3 separate regions of the Homo sapiens genome follow, and regions 1 and 3 are each linked to region 2. Evidence: promoter capture Hi-C in human tissues and cell types (Jung and others, 2019). All regions are on one chromosome and are shown on one strand. The core of a region is centred on a gene start or on the middle of the fragment in contact, and the rest is flanking DNA. Distances in the headings are between cores, read along the strand shown.

Region 1 (3,764 bases), core at 731-3,230, 280 kb after region 2:
GGATGGCTGTTTATTGAGCCGACATTCCTGGGTAGGAATCTGATGGATACGTAGGTGTTTCTGACATTGCACTCCAGCGGATTTTTACCAACGCCTCCTGGTGCCTGGGGTCTCCTCCTTCATCTGTGACCTGGACATCCGTTCATTCCTCACCAAAGATCACTGGGCACCTGCTGTATGCCAGGCACTGTGCCCTGGACACTGGGCATGGGGACAGAGCAGGGGAACAGCCCCCACCCTCCTGGAGCTGACATTCCTCCAGTCCTGGGGACAAACAGGACAAAAGATGAAATGAAATATCAGCAGGGGGCTGGGGCTCAAGCCTGTAATCCCAACATTTTGGGAGGCTGAGGCGGGAGGATTCCTTGAGGTCAGGAGTTCGAGACCATCCTGGCCAACATGGTGAAACCCCCGTCTCTACTAAAAATACAAAAAAAATTAGCTGGGCATGGTGGCAGGTGCCTGTAATCCCAACTAATCAGGAGGCTGAGGCAGAAGAATCGCTTGAACCCGGGAGGCAGAGGTTGCAGTGAGCCGAGATCGTGCCACTGCACTCCAGCCTTGGCAAGAGAGAGAGACTCCGTCTCAAAAAATAAAATAAAATAAAATATCTGATATGTCAGATGGTAGCTTTAAATGCTGAAGAGAAGCTGGGCACAGTGGCTCACATCTGTAATCCTAGCACTTTGGGAGGCCAAGGCTGAAGGATGGCCTGAACCTCCTGGTCTTGAGTTTGAGACCAGCCTGGGCAACACAGTGAGATCCCAACTGTACAAAAAATTAATCATGTTTCTAAATTAAATTTTAAAAAACTGAATGCGGCCGGGTGCGGTGGTTCACGCCTGTAATCCCAGCACTTTGGGAGGCCAAGGCAGGTGGATCACCTGAGGTCAGGGGTTCGAGACAAGCCTGACCAACATGGTGAAACCCTGTCTCTACTAAAAAATACAAAAATTAGCCAGGCATGGTGGTGTGCGCCTATAATCCCAGCTACTAGGGGGGCTGAGGCAGGAGAATCGCTTGAACCCAGGAGGTGGAGGTTGCAGTGAGCCGAGATCACGCCATTGCACTCCAGCCTGGGCGACAGAGCTAGACTCCGTCTCCAAAATCAAACAAACAAACCAAAGGCTGGGCGTGGTGGCTCATGCCTGTAATCCCAGCTTTTTTGGAGGCTAAGGTGGGTGGATTCCTGAGGTCAGGAGTTCAAGACCATCCTGGCCAACATGGTGAAACCTCATCTCTATTAAAAATACAAAAAAATTAGCCGGGCATGGTGGTATATGCCTGTAATCCCAGCTACTGGGGAGGCCGAGGCATGAGAATTGCTTGAACCTGGTGGGCAGAGGTTGCAGTGAGCTGAGATCGTGCCACTGAACTCCAAACTGGGTGACAGAGCGAGACTCCAGCTCAAAATAAATAAATAAATAAAAATAATAAAATAAAATAAAACAATGACCTCGCCTAGCAGAGGGTGAGTGCTCCAGCACCCTCAGCTGTCCCTGTCCTTTTTTTTTTTTTTTTTTTTTTTTTTGCGACGGAGTCTCGCTTTGTTGCCCAGGCTGGAGTGTAATGGCGCCATCTCAGCTCACTGCCACCTCCGCCTCCCGGGTTCAAGAGATCTCAGCCTCCCGAGTAGCTGGGATTACAGGCGCCCGCCACCACGTCCGGCTGATTTTTGTATTTTTGGTAGAGACGGGGTTTCACCATGTTGGCCAGGCTAGTCTTGAACTCCTGACCTCAGGTCATCTGCCCGCTTCGGCCTCCCAAAGTGCTGGAATTACAGACGTGAGCCACCGCTCCAGGCCTGTCCCTGTCCTTATTTGTGGTCCCTGTTCTTCCAGGGTCCTGAGCTCAGGCCCCCCCGGACTGCGGGTATCCCCGGGGAGGGCACAGCTGGCCCTGGCAGGGCCCGGACACCTGGGGCCCGACCCACCCCTGCGCACCCCGCGGTGTCGCCTTCCCGGGAGGCTCGGGTTCCCAGATCCCCTTACCCGGGCGTCTCGGCTGTCGCGCCCTGGGCCGGGGGAGGGGAGGCTGCAGGAAGCGGCGGATCCGGCGGCGGCGGCGAGGGCCCGGGTGGGTGGCCGAACTTCTCCCGCCATGGAGGGAGCAGCGGCCCGGGAGGCCCGGGGGACCGAGACCCCGCGCGCGTCTGCGCCCCCGCCCGCGCCCTCGGAGCCCCCGGCCGCGCCCCGCGCCCGCCCGCGCCTCGTCTTCCGCACGCAGCTGGCGCACGGGAGCCCCACGGGCAAGATCGAGGGCTTCACCAACGTCCGCGAGCTGTACGCCAAGATCGCCGAAGCCTTCGGGATCGCGCCCACCGAGGTAAGGAGCCCGGACACCGGCGCCCAAGACCACCCGCCTGATGGGGTGAGGGGTAGGGAGCTTGGACCCTGGACGGGAGACCCCAGATCCCCGGATCCCAGACGTCGGGGTGGCCGCCTAATCGCCGGATCTCAGAGACCCAGCCCTCAGATCCCGGGGTGCCACACTCCCAGGGGCCCCCTTTGCACGCTCTGCGCAAAAGATGGGCAGGTCTTAGGACTAGCGGACCCCTAGATATTCCAGAAAATCCTCTGCGCAGACCTAGCTTGGAGCGGACCCCAGCCCTCGGGGAAGCGCCTCTGTGCTTCCTGGGCGTAGCTGGGGTCTGGGGTTCCAGATGGCCCCCTTAGGGATGGGAAGTTTGAGGCCGCCGTGGGGTTGGGGGGTTCCTGGGCGTTTTTCCAATCCGGGTTCGTTTGGTTTGCAGCCCCCAGGGGGCGCCAGCAGATTAAACCTGGAGGTCTGGGGGCTGGAGGTCCCGGGGTATGGAGAGGGGTCTCCACCTGCTGGAAGTCTCCTTCTCCCTCCTCTCTCTGTTCTGGGGGTCCCACGCCCTGCCCTTTCCCATGGGCTGGGATCCTGGTCGCTGGGGGCAGGGGCCTGCGCAGACAGGGTGGCTGCGTGGGGGGATGCATGCCCTGGCTAACTCTAGGCTCCTTCTCCCCCGGGAAGATTTTATTCTGCACCCTCAACAGCCACAAAGTGGACATGCAGAAGCTCCTGGGGGGTCAGATAGGCCTGGAGGACTTCATCTTTGCCCACGTGCGAGGCGAGACCAAGGAGGTGGAGGTCACTAAGACAGAGGATGCTCTGGGGCTGACCATCACGGACAACGGGGCTGGCTACGCCTTCATCAAGGTGCCCGGGAGGGGGTGGGCGGGTGGCTTCCTGGGGTCCAGCAACTGCCCCCCCCACTCTGGGTCGACGTGGGTTCTGCGGATTGGAGGCGGGTGGCTGGGGTTGCCCTGCCAGCGACGCTGGATCCCTGCAGAGAATCAAGGAAGGCAGTATCATCAACCGGATCGAGGCAGTGTGCGTGGGTGACAGCATCGAAGCCATCAACGACCACTCCATTGTGGGCTGCCGCCACTACGAGGTGGCCAAGATGCTCCGGGAGCTGCCCAAGTCCCAGCCCTTCACCCTGCGCCTGGTGCAGCCCAAGAGGGCCTTCGGTGAGGCGGGTGGGCTGGCGGGAGCTCTTCCCGAAGTGCGTTCTACGGATGCCTGGGGTGGAGGAGGGTCGGGGATGGGACGGGCTGGAAGGTTCTAGGTGCACCCGCTGCGTGCCAAGGAGCTCCTGGCAGGGTATCAGAAACTCGTAGGTAGTTTCTATTAATAGATTGTTATGGAGTCAGCCTGTGGGGGAGGGGTGGGGGAGAGACTGGGTAAAGTGGAGTTGGAGGAGGACGCGTCCAGAACCACTTTGGAGCCAGGCTGGG
Region 2 (4,037 bases), core at 376-2,875:
CCGTGACCTGCTAGGCCCAGGGCATGGCGTTAGCAAAGGTGGGGGTAGAAGTAGGAATTACTGGCCGGGCGCGGTGGCTCACGCCTGTAATCCCAGCACTTCGGGAGGCCGAGGTGAGTGGATCACCTGAGGACGGGAGTTCGAGACTAGCCAGACCAACATGGAGAAACCCCGTCTCTACTGAAAATACAAAATTAGTCGGGTGTGGTGGTGCATGCCTGTAATCCCAGCTACTAAGGAGGCTGAGGCCGGAGAATCGCTTGAACCTGGGAGGCGGAGGTTGCGGTGAGCCGAGATTGCGCCACTGCACTCCAGCCTGGGCGACAAGAGTGAAACGCCGTCTAAAAAAAAAAAAAAAAAAAAAAAAAAAAAGTAGGAATTACCTAGGTCCGAGTTAGAAAACAGAGAGCCCCTCAACTGTGGCCTCGAAACCACACAGAGGACTGAAGCAGGATGTGTGGGGGTAAAACTGAGGGCCAAATAGGAGCTGAGTCCCGACCAAGGGAGCTGGAGTTCCTCACCTCTGGGTCCTCAATATTTGCTGATTGACTTAAGACATGCATGCCCTTAAGCCTTGCATTCTCTCTCCAAGCTTCAGTTTCCTCATCTGTAAGACGGGGCTCATGAGATATATATATATATATGTGTGTGTGTGTGTGTGTGTGTATATATATATATACACATACATATGTGTGTATATACATATAATGTATATGTGTGTATATATGTATATATACGTGTGTATGTGTGTGTGTGTGTGTATACACATAATTTTTGGTTGGTTGTTTGAGACGGAGTCTCACTCTGTCACCCAGGCTGGAGTGCAGTGGCGCGATCTCAGTTCACTGCAACCTCCGCCTCCCAGGTTCAAGAGATTCTGCTGCCTCAGCCTCCCGAGTAGCTGGGATTACAGGTGCGCGCCACCACACCCGGCTAATTTTTGTATTTTTAATAGAGACAGGGTTTCACCATATTGGTCAGGCTGGTCTCGAATCCCTGACCTCTTGATCCGCCCGCCTCGGCCTTCCTGATCCAACCGCCTCGGCCTCCCAAAGTGCTGGGATTACAGGCGTGAGCCACCACGCCCGGCCTGGGCTCAGGTTATTATGCAAACATCCAGAACTGGGCAGATCAAGATGAATGATACCAATGATACTATCACATTATAGGCAAAATAGGACCTTCTCCCCGGTCAGAAAAGTGAACTCTCAGGCATCACTCCTACTGGAATCCAGAGTCAATAAACATTTATGAAGCACCTACTGGGTACTAGGAGCTGTTGTAGAAAGGTACTGGGGAGAAGGCAGGGAACGAAATGTACAAAAATTCTGACCACGTCCATAGTCCCTGGCCCCGCCCCACTACTTGCCCCAACCCTCACAGGAACAGTTTCCAGCCCCGCCCCCAGCCCCGCCTCCTCTCCACCCCCTCACTTTTCTGAACCTACCAGAGCGAGGTGAAGGGTGAGAGTAATCTACATATTCATGAGGGATCAGCCAATCCACAGCCTGAACTCGGATTTGTCTTCAGAGCCTAGCTGATTGTGACGTCAAGAGTGATGCATTACGTAGCCGGGCGCCGTGGCTCATGCCTGTAATCCCAGCACTTTGGGAAGCCGCGGAGGGCAGATCACCCGAGGTCAGGAGTTCAAGATCAGCCTGGCCAATATGGTGAAACCCCGTCTCTACTAAAAATACAAAAATTAGCCGGGTGTGGTGGCGAGTGCCTGTAATCCCAACTACTCAGGAGGCTGAGGCAGGAGGATCGCTTGAATCCAGAAGGCGGAGGTGGCAGTGAGTGGAGATCGTGCCACTGCACTCCAGCCTGGGCCACAGAGCCAGACTCCGTCTCAAAAAAAATAATAATAATAATAAAGTGATGCATTGCGTGATTTTTAAAGGTGCAGCAACCTCTCATGGTCTCAGTTTGCATATCCGTAAAGTACAGGTTGGGGCGTGCGGGACATAGAAACCAGCGCAGTACGATGACGCTGAAATCGCTTTGCCACCTTGGGTGAAATTCAGGGATACGTTTTGAGCGTTCACTACATGTCAGACACTTTACTCCAGCGGGGGCTCCGGAGTTCCTGCTTAGAATGGGAGCTTCAGCACCGGGGGTCGCGGACAGCTCCCGGCTCTGGTCGCAGGGGCTCCCATGCAGGATGACTGGGGACAAGGGTCTGAGCTTTCTCTGCCTGTCTGTCCTCCATCAAAGCCTCAAATGAACTCAGCCCTAATCTCTGACAGCTAAGGGGTTGCTAGTCAGGACAACACTCTGTCCTTGGTCCCCAATCCTGCTCCTCCCTCGTCGTCTGCATCTCAGCTGATGGCAGTTCCATTCTTTTTTTTTTTTTTTTTGAGACGGAGTCTCGCTCTGTCGCCCAGGCTAGAGTGCAGTGGCGCGATCTCGGCTCACTGCAAGCTCCGCCTCCCGGGTTCACACCATTCTCCTGCCTCAGCCTCCCGAGTAGCTGGGACTACAGGTGCCTGCCACCACGCCTGGCTAATTTTTTGTATTTTTAGTAGAGACGGGGTTTCACCGTGTTAGCCAGGATGGTCTCGATCTCCTGACCTCGTGATCCGCCTGCCTCGGCCGCCCAAAGTGCTGGGATTATAGGCGTGAGCCACCGCGCCCGGCCCGGCAGTTCCATTCTTCCGGGTGCTGGAGCCGAATATCAACGCTATCCTGGATCTTTTGTTTCTTGCTCAACTCCAATCTATCAGCAGGTCCTGTCGCCCCTGCCCTCACTATTCCATCCTCAAACGCTCACTTCTTCCTGTTCCTCTGCCTGGGTCCAGCCCCATCGTTGCCCACCTGGACCTGGCGCAGTTGCCTCTGCCTTGGTCCTAGGCTCCACCCTCTGCCACACAGTCTGTCCTCCCTGCAGCAGCCACCAGAGGGGGGCTGTGAGCACCCGAGTTAGGGCCTGTCCCTCCTCTGCCTACAGCACTCCAAGGCTCCCACCTTCCTCTGGGTCAAAGCCTCCCTGTGACCTATAAGGCTGGCAAGACCTTCCCTGTGTTAGCCAGGATGGTCTCGATCTCCTAACCTCGTGATCTGCCTGCCTCAGCCTCCCAAAGTGCTGGGATTACAGGCGTGAGCCACCACGCCCAGCCAATTTTCTGCATTTTGAATATATGTCTGGGTATGTCTCTTAGAGGATATTTATTCTGTTTGGTGTTTTCTGAGCCTCATGGATCTGTGAAAATTATTGGCTATTCTCTGAAAACAATCAGCTGCCCTAGTCTTCCTTCTCCTGTGGGATTCCAATTACACCTGTGTTAGATCACTTGCTCTTCACCTGCAGCTCTTGGATGCTCTTAACCTGTCTTTAACACCTCTCTAATTCTTGCTTTTCTTTTTTTACAAACAGAGCAGGCTTCAGGCTTGATGTTTGGTTAGACTATGATAAGGTTGAGGAGGTTTTTGTTGCATTTATCTTTGGACCTGCCCTCAATTCACGGCAGACTGTAGTGCGGGGGAGGCGTTATTCTTTTCTCTTTAAATATATCTAAGTCTTTTAAAACAAACAGTTTGATCCAAAGAAAAATCTTCACTAATACTTGGACACAGATAAAACGAGAAGGGTGGTCTGTGAGTGACAGCATTGAGAGGCTGCCCTAATCTGGCTTGTTGGTTTTTCAGCTAGGGAAACTGAGGCATGGAGTGGGTAAAGACTTGTAGACCAGGCCGGGTGTGGTGGCTCACACCTGTAATCCCAGCACTCTGGGAGGCCGAGGCAAGTGGATCACCTGAGGTCAGGAGTTTGAGACCAGCCTGGCCAACATGGCGAAACCCCATCTCTACTGAAAATACAAAATTAGCCGGGCGTGGCAGCAGGTGCCTGTAATCCCAGCTACTTGGGAGGCTGAGGCAGGAGAATTGTTTGAACCTGGGAGGTGGAGGGTGCGGTGAGCTGAGATCGCACCATTGCACTCCAGCCTAGGCATCAAGAGTGAAACTCCATCTAAAAAACAAAAAAAGACGTGTAGACCTGGGCCTTCTGTCCTTGGTACGGGGGGACAGGAACCGGGGTT
Region 3 (3,861 bases), core at 1,150-3,649, 330 kb before region 2:
ATGAACTCTTTTCTTCTTTTGAGGCAGAGTACTCTGTCGCCCAGGGTGGAGTGCAATGGCGACATCTTGGCTCATTGCAACCTCTGCCTCCCAGGTTCAAGTAGCTGGGATTACAGATGTGCATCACCGTGCCCGGCTGATTTTTGTATTTTTAGTAGAGGTAGGGTTTCAGCATGTTGGCCAGGCTGGTCTGGAACTCCTGACCTCAAGTGATCTCCTGCTTCGGCCTCTCAAAGTGCTGGAATTACAGGCGTGAGCCACCACGCCTGGCCTGATGTGGTGATTTTTTTTTTTTTTTTCTGAGACAGAGTCTTGCTGTGTCACCCTGGCTGAAGTGCAGTGGCACAATCTCGACTCACTGCAACCTCCGCCTCCCAGGTTCAAGTGATTCTTCTGCCTAAGCCTCCAGAGTAGCTGGGACTACAGGTGCCTATCACCATGCCTGGCTAATTTTTGTATTTTAGTAGAGCTGGGGTTTTCTTTTTTTTTTTTTTTTTTTGAGACAGAGTCTTGTTCTGTCGCCCAGTCTGGAGTGCAGTGGCGCAATCTTGGCTCACTGCAAGCTCCGCCTCCCGGGTTCACGCCATTCTCCCGCCTCAGCCTCCTCAGTAGCTGGGATTACAGGCACCCACCGCCACGCCCGGCTAATTTTTTTGTATTTTTTATTAGAGATGGGGTTTCACCGTGTTAGCCAGGATGGTCTCGATCTCCTGACCTCGTGATCCACCCGCCTCGGCCTCCCAAAGTTCTGGGATTACAGGTGTGACCCGGCCAAGCTGGGGTTTCACCATGTTGGCCAGGCTGGTCTCGAACCCCTGACCTCAGATGATCCACCCACCTCTGCCTCCCAAAGTGCTGGGATTACAGGCGTGCACCACAGCACCTGGCCCAACGTGGTGATTTCTAAGTAGGGAGCTGAGGGAGTAAGGAGCCAGCCGGTGGCTGTCTGAGAGAGACTGTCCCTGGCAGAGTGAACTGCTAATGCCAGTACCAGGTCCTGGGCCAAACAGAAAGAAACGGGCTCTCACTCCAGAACTGCAGCTTGACCACTATATATATAATATATATACTTTATATATATTATAGCTATATATTTTTTTGAGATGGAGTCTTGCTCTGTTGCTCAGACTGGAGTGCAGTGGCACGATCATAGCTCACTCCAGACTCAACCTCCTGGGCTTACGCCATCCTCCTGCCTCAGCCTCCCCAGTAGCTGAGACTACAGGTGCATGACCACCACACTTGGCTAATTTTTAAATTTTTTGTAGAGACGCGGTGTCACTGTGTTGCCCAGGCTGGTCTCCAACTCCTGGCCTCAAGCAATCCTCCCACCTCAGCCTTCCAAAATGCTGGGATCACAGGTGTGAGCCATGGTGACTTGGCTTCATATTTTGAATAGGCCAAAACAAAACTCCGAAATCCCCTTACTCCTATCCCCACGACCCCACACAGCAGGTTTCTCTCGCTCTGCAGCAACCCACTTACCTCTCGGAAATCATCCCAGGCCTGTTCGGAGTGCACGCAGCCCCGTTAGCCTCCCTGGCTGCTCCTGTAACCAGCCCAGCTCTGCCTGAGAGGTTCCGCTATTCCCTCCGTCTGGAATACCCACCACTCTCTCCCACCCCGCGCTTGCATCCGGCAATACTGTATCAGCCTCAGGGCCTCTGCTGTCCCGCTTTCTGCTCTCAGAGCCTTTGTCACTGGGCTGGAAGAGCAGTTGGGAAAATTCGGTGATAAATGCATAGCCCGGGGCTGGGACCATCAAGGGGACCCAGTAAGTTGGCTCCAGAAAGAGGACTTGAAGCTTCGTTTGCATTGCACGTTATTTAATATTGAGGAAAATGTAATTAGCCCGTATCTAAGAATTGGGGTGACAGCGCTAAAGATTGAACCCACCCACCTCCCACTCCTCACCTCCAGCCATAAGCCACTTCCGGACAAGGCTAAAAATGCGTAAAACAATGCAACTACTCGCCACCTATCCCTGCCCAAGTTCCAGCCTCTGAGCCTCAAGCCCCACGCCCTCCTAAATATCCCCGCCCCCGCTGGGACCCCAAATTGCCTATAGCTCTGCAAGTCCGCCCTTCCCGGCAGCGGGACCGAAAGGGTAAAGCAGAGGCTCCCGGCTCGCTGAGTGACAGCATGGCCGGCGGCCGGGGAGAGCCGACCAATCAGGGAGGGCGTACGCGACCCACGTGCGTAAACGGCCTCGCTATTGGCCGGCGCCGCCAGAGGCCTGCCCCCCCCGGAGCCCGAACCCACGTGCAGCTACTGCGCCTTCATTGATCTGCTTCGCGGTCCAGGTGGCGGCTGGGTGGGGCCTGGGCGGGACGGGGCGGGGACAAGGCGGGACGAGGCGGGGCCCGATGGGTCAAATGGCCCCCGGTGGGGGAAGGAGGAGTTTCCTCTTGGCCTGAACTTGGCTGACCTCCGCAGCTTCCGCCCGGTGAGGGACGTGAGTTGCCAGGCGTGTTCTAGGGGGCTGGGGGGACTCCAGGATTCCCGGCCGGGGAAGGGGCTGCAGGGGCGTGGAGGGGCAGGACTGAGGCAAGGAAGAAGCTGGGTGCTGCAGCAGGGATGGAGGTGGAGAGAGGTCGTTTCTTCTGTCTGATGAATTCCGCCTAATGCACCTGGCTAACTCCTAGTCATCCTTCAAAACCCCTTTCTAGTGATCTCCCTGCGCTTTAGGAAATTGTCTCAAAACTAAGGTTGAGCTTTGGCGACCTTCCCTGGGCTCCCCCGTCCCTGACTGCCCCCAGCAGGGAGTGTATGTGCACTATCCACCCCAGCCTCCTAGGGTGAGGCCTGGGAGGCAAGGCTCAGTTCTTTCTGGGTCCCCGCCCCCATGAATCTGGGCAGCTGGAGGCATTGATAAGTGAGGACAGGACCTAGGGAACGCATGGGAGAACCGCAGGATTGGGTCCCTGGAGACTTACCAAACTGGGAGGTGCGGGTGGGGTAACGGGTGCCTTGCTTCCCTGGCACTGCCTTATTTTCTGTCCCTCAAGACCTGCCGTCTCCTTGTTGTTTTAGACTCTGGCTAAAGTCTTGGAGGCTACTGCCTTGAAGATGACCTCTAGGGACCAGCCCAGACCCAAGGGCCCCCCGAAAAGCACTTCGGTGAGGAGGGCATGTGGTGGGATCAGCCCTCAAGGGAAACCCGGGCCCAATGTGGTTCTGCCCCTTTTCCACCTGTGACCTGGGCTGGCCCCGCCCAGGCCTCGCAGCTGAAGACAATACTGGTCGCTGCTACACTCAAGACAGGTGCCAAGGAGCCGTGTTTTTTAAAAAAAATTAAGTGTAGGCTGGACACTGTGGCTCACAACTGTAATCTCAACATTTTTGGAGGCCGAGGCAGGAGGACCACTTGAGCCCAGGAGTTTGAAACCAGCCTGGACAACGTAGTGAGACCCTGTCTCTGTAAAAAATAAAACTAGAAGAATCAGCTGGGCCTAGTGACGTGGGCCTGTAGTTGCAGCTACTTGGGAGGCTGAGGCAGAGGGTTGGCTTGAGCCCAAGGAGTTTGAGGCTGCAGTGAACTATGATGGTGCCACTGCACTCCATCCTTGGTGACAGTGAGATCCCATCTAAAAAAAAATGTAGCATCTAATCACATATGTGATAAAAACACAGGAACACATCATGTATTTGGTTGATGTTTTACAAGCAATCCCCGCTCCCTGCACTTTGCGTCCCAGAGATGACCATTTGTAAATTTAGGCTCTCAGGGCTGAGCAGACGTTTTTTTTTGTAAAGGAGTCAGATGAGGGATATTTTGTTTTGAGACTTTATGATTTTATTATGTTTGAGACGGAGTCTCACACTCACCTCGGCTGGAATGCAATGGCGCAATCTCAGCTC

The links. Contacts are between HindIII fragments. The study calls those that stand out against the background at their distance.
Region 1: a contact is called between the fragment with the promoter of GIPC3 here and a fragment that was not itself captured in region 2, in 2 of the 25 tissues and cell types used here (dorsolateral prefrontal cortex and pancreas).
Region 3: the fragment with the promoter of TLE6 here is called in contact with a fragment that was not itself captured in region 2 in 1 of the 25 tissues and cell types used here (dorsolateral prefrontal cortex).

What each region holds. Positions count from the first base shown.
Region 1 is chr19:3,583,498-3,587,261 of GRCh38, forward strand. It overlaps GIPC3 (GIPC PDZ domain containing family member 3), which reads left to right and starts at 1,981. Exons shown (of 6, transcript NM_133261.3): 1 at 1,981-2,325; 2 at 2,998-3,183; 3 at 3,317-3,497. The coding sequence starts at 2,101. The HindIII fragment of the contact is 10,668 bases long and covers 1-3,764 here.
Region 2 is chr19:3,305,402-3,309,438 of GRCh38, forward strand. LOC105372244 (a long non-coding RNA gene) reads right to left here and starts at 1,501. Exons shown (of 3, transcript NR_187753.1): 1 at 1,448-1,501. The HindIII fragment of the contact is 7,399 bases long and covers 1-4,037 here.
Region 3 is chr19:2,975,165-2,979,025 of GRCh38, forward strand. It overlaps TLE6 (TLE family member 6, subcortical maternal complex member), which reads left to right and starts at 2,400. Exons shown (of 17, transcript NM_001143986.2): 1 at 2,400-2,446; 2 at 3,034-3,120. The coding sequence starts at 3,070. RefSeq lists a silencer at 2,122-2,431. The HindIII fragment of the contact is 31,192 bases long and covers 469-3,861 here.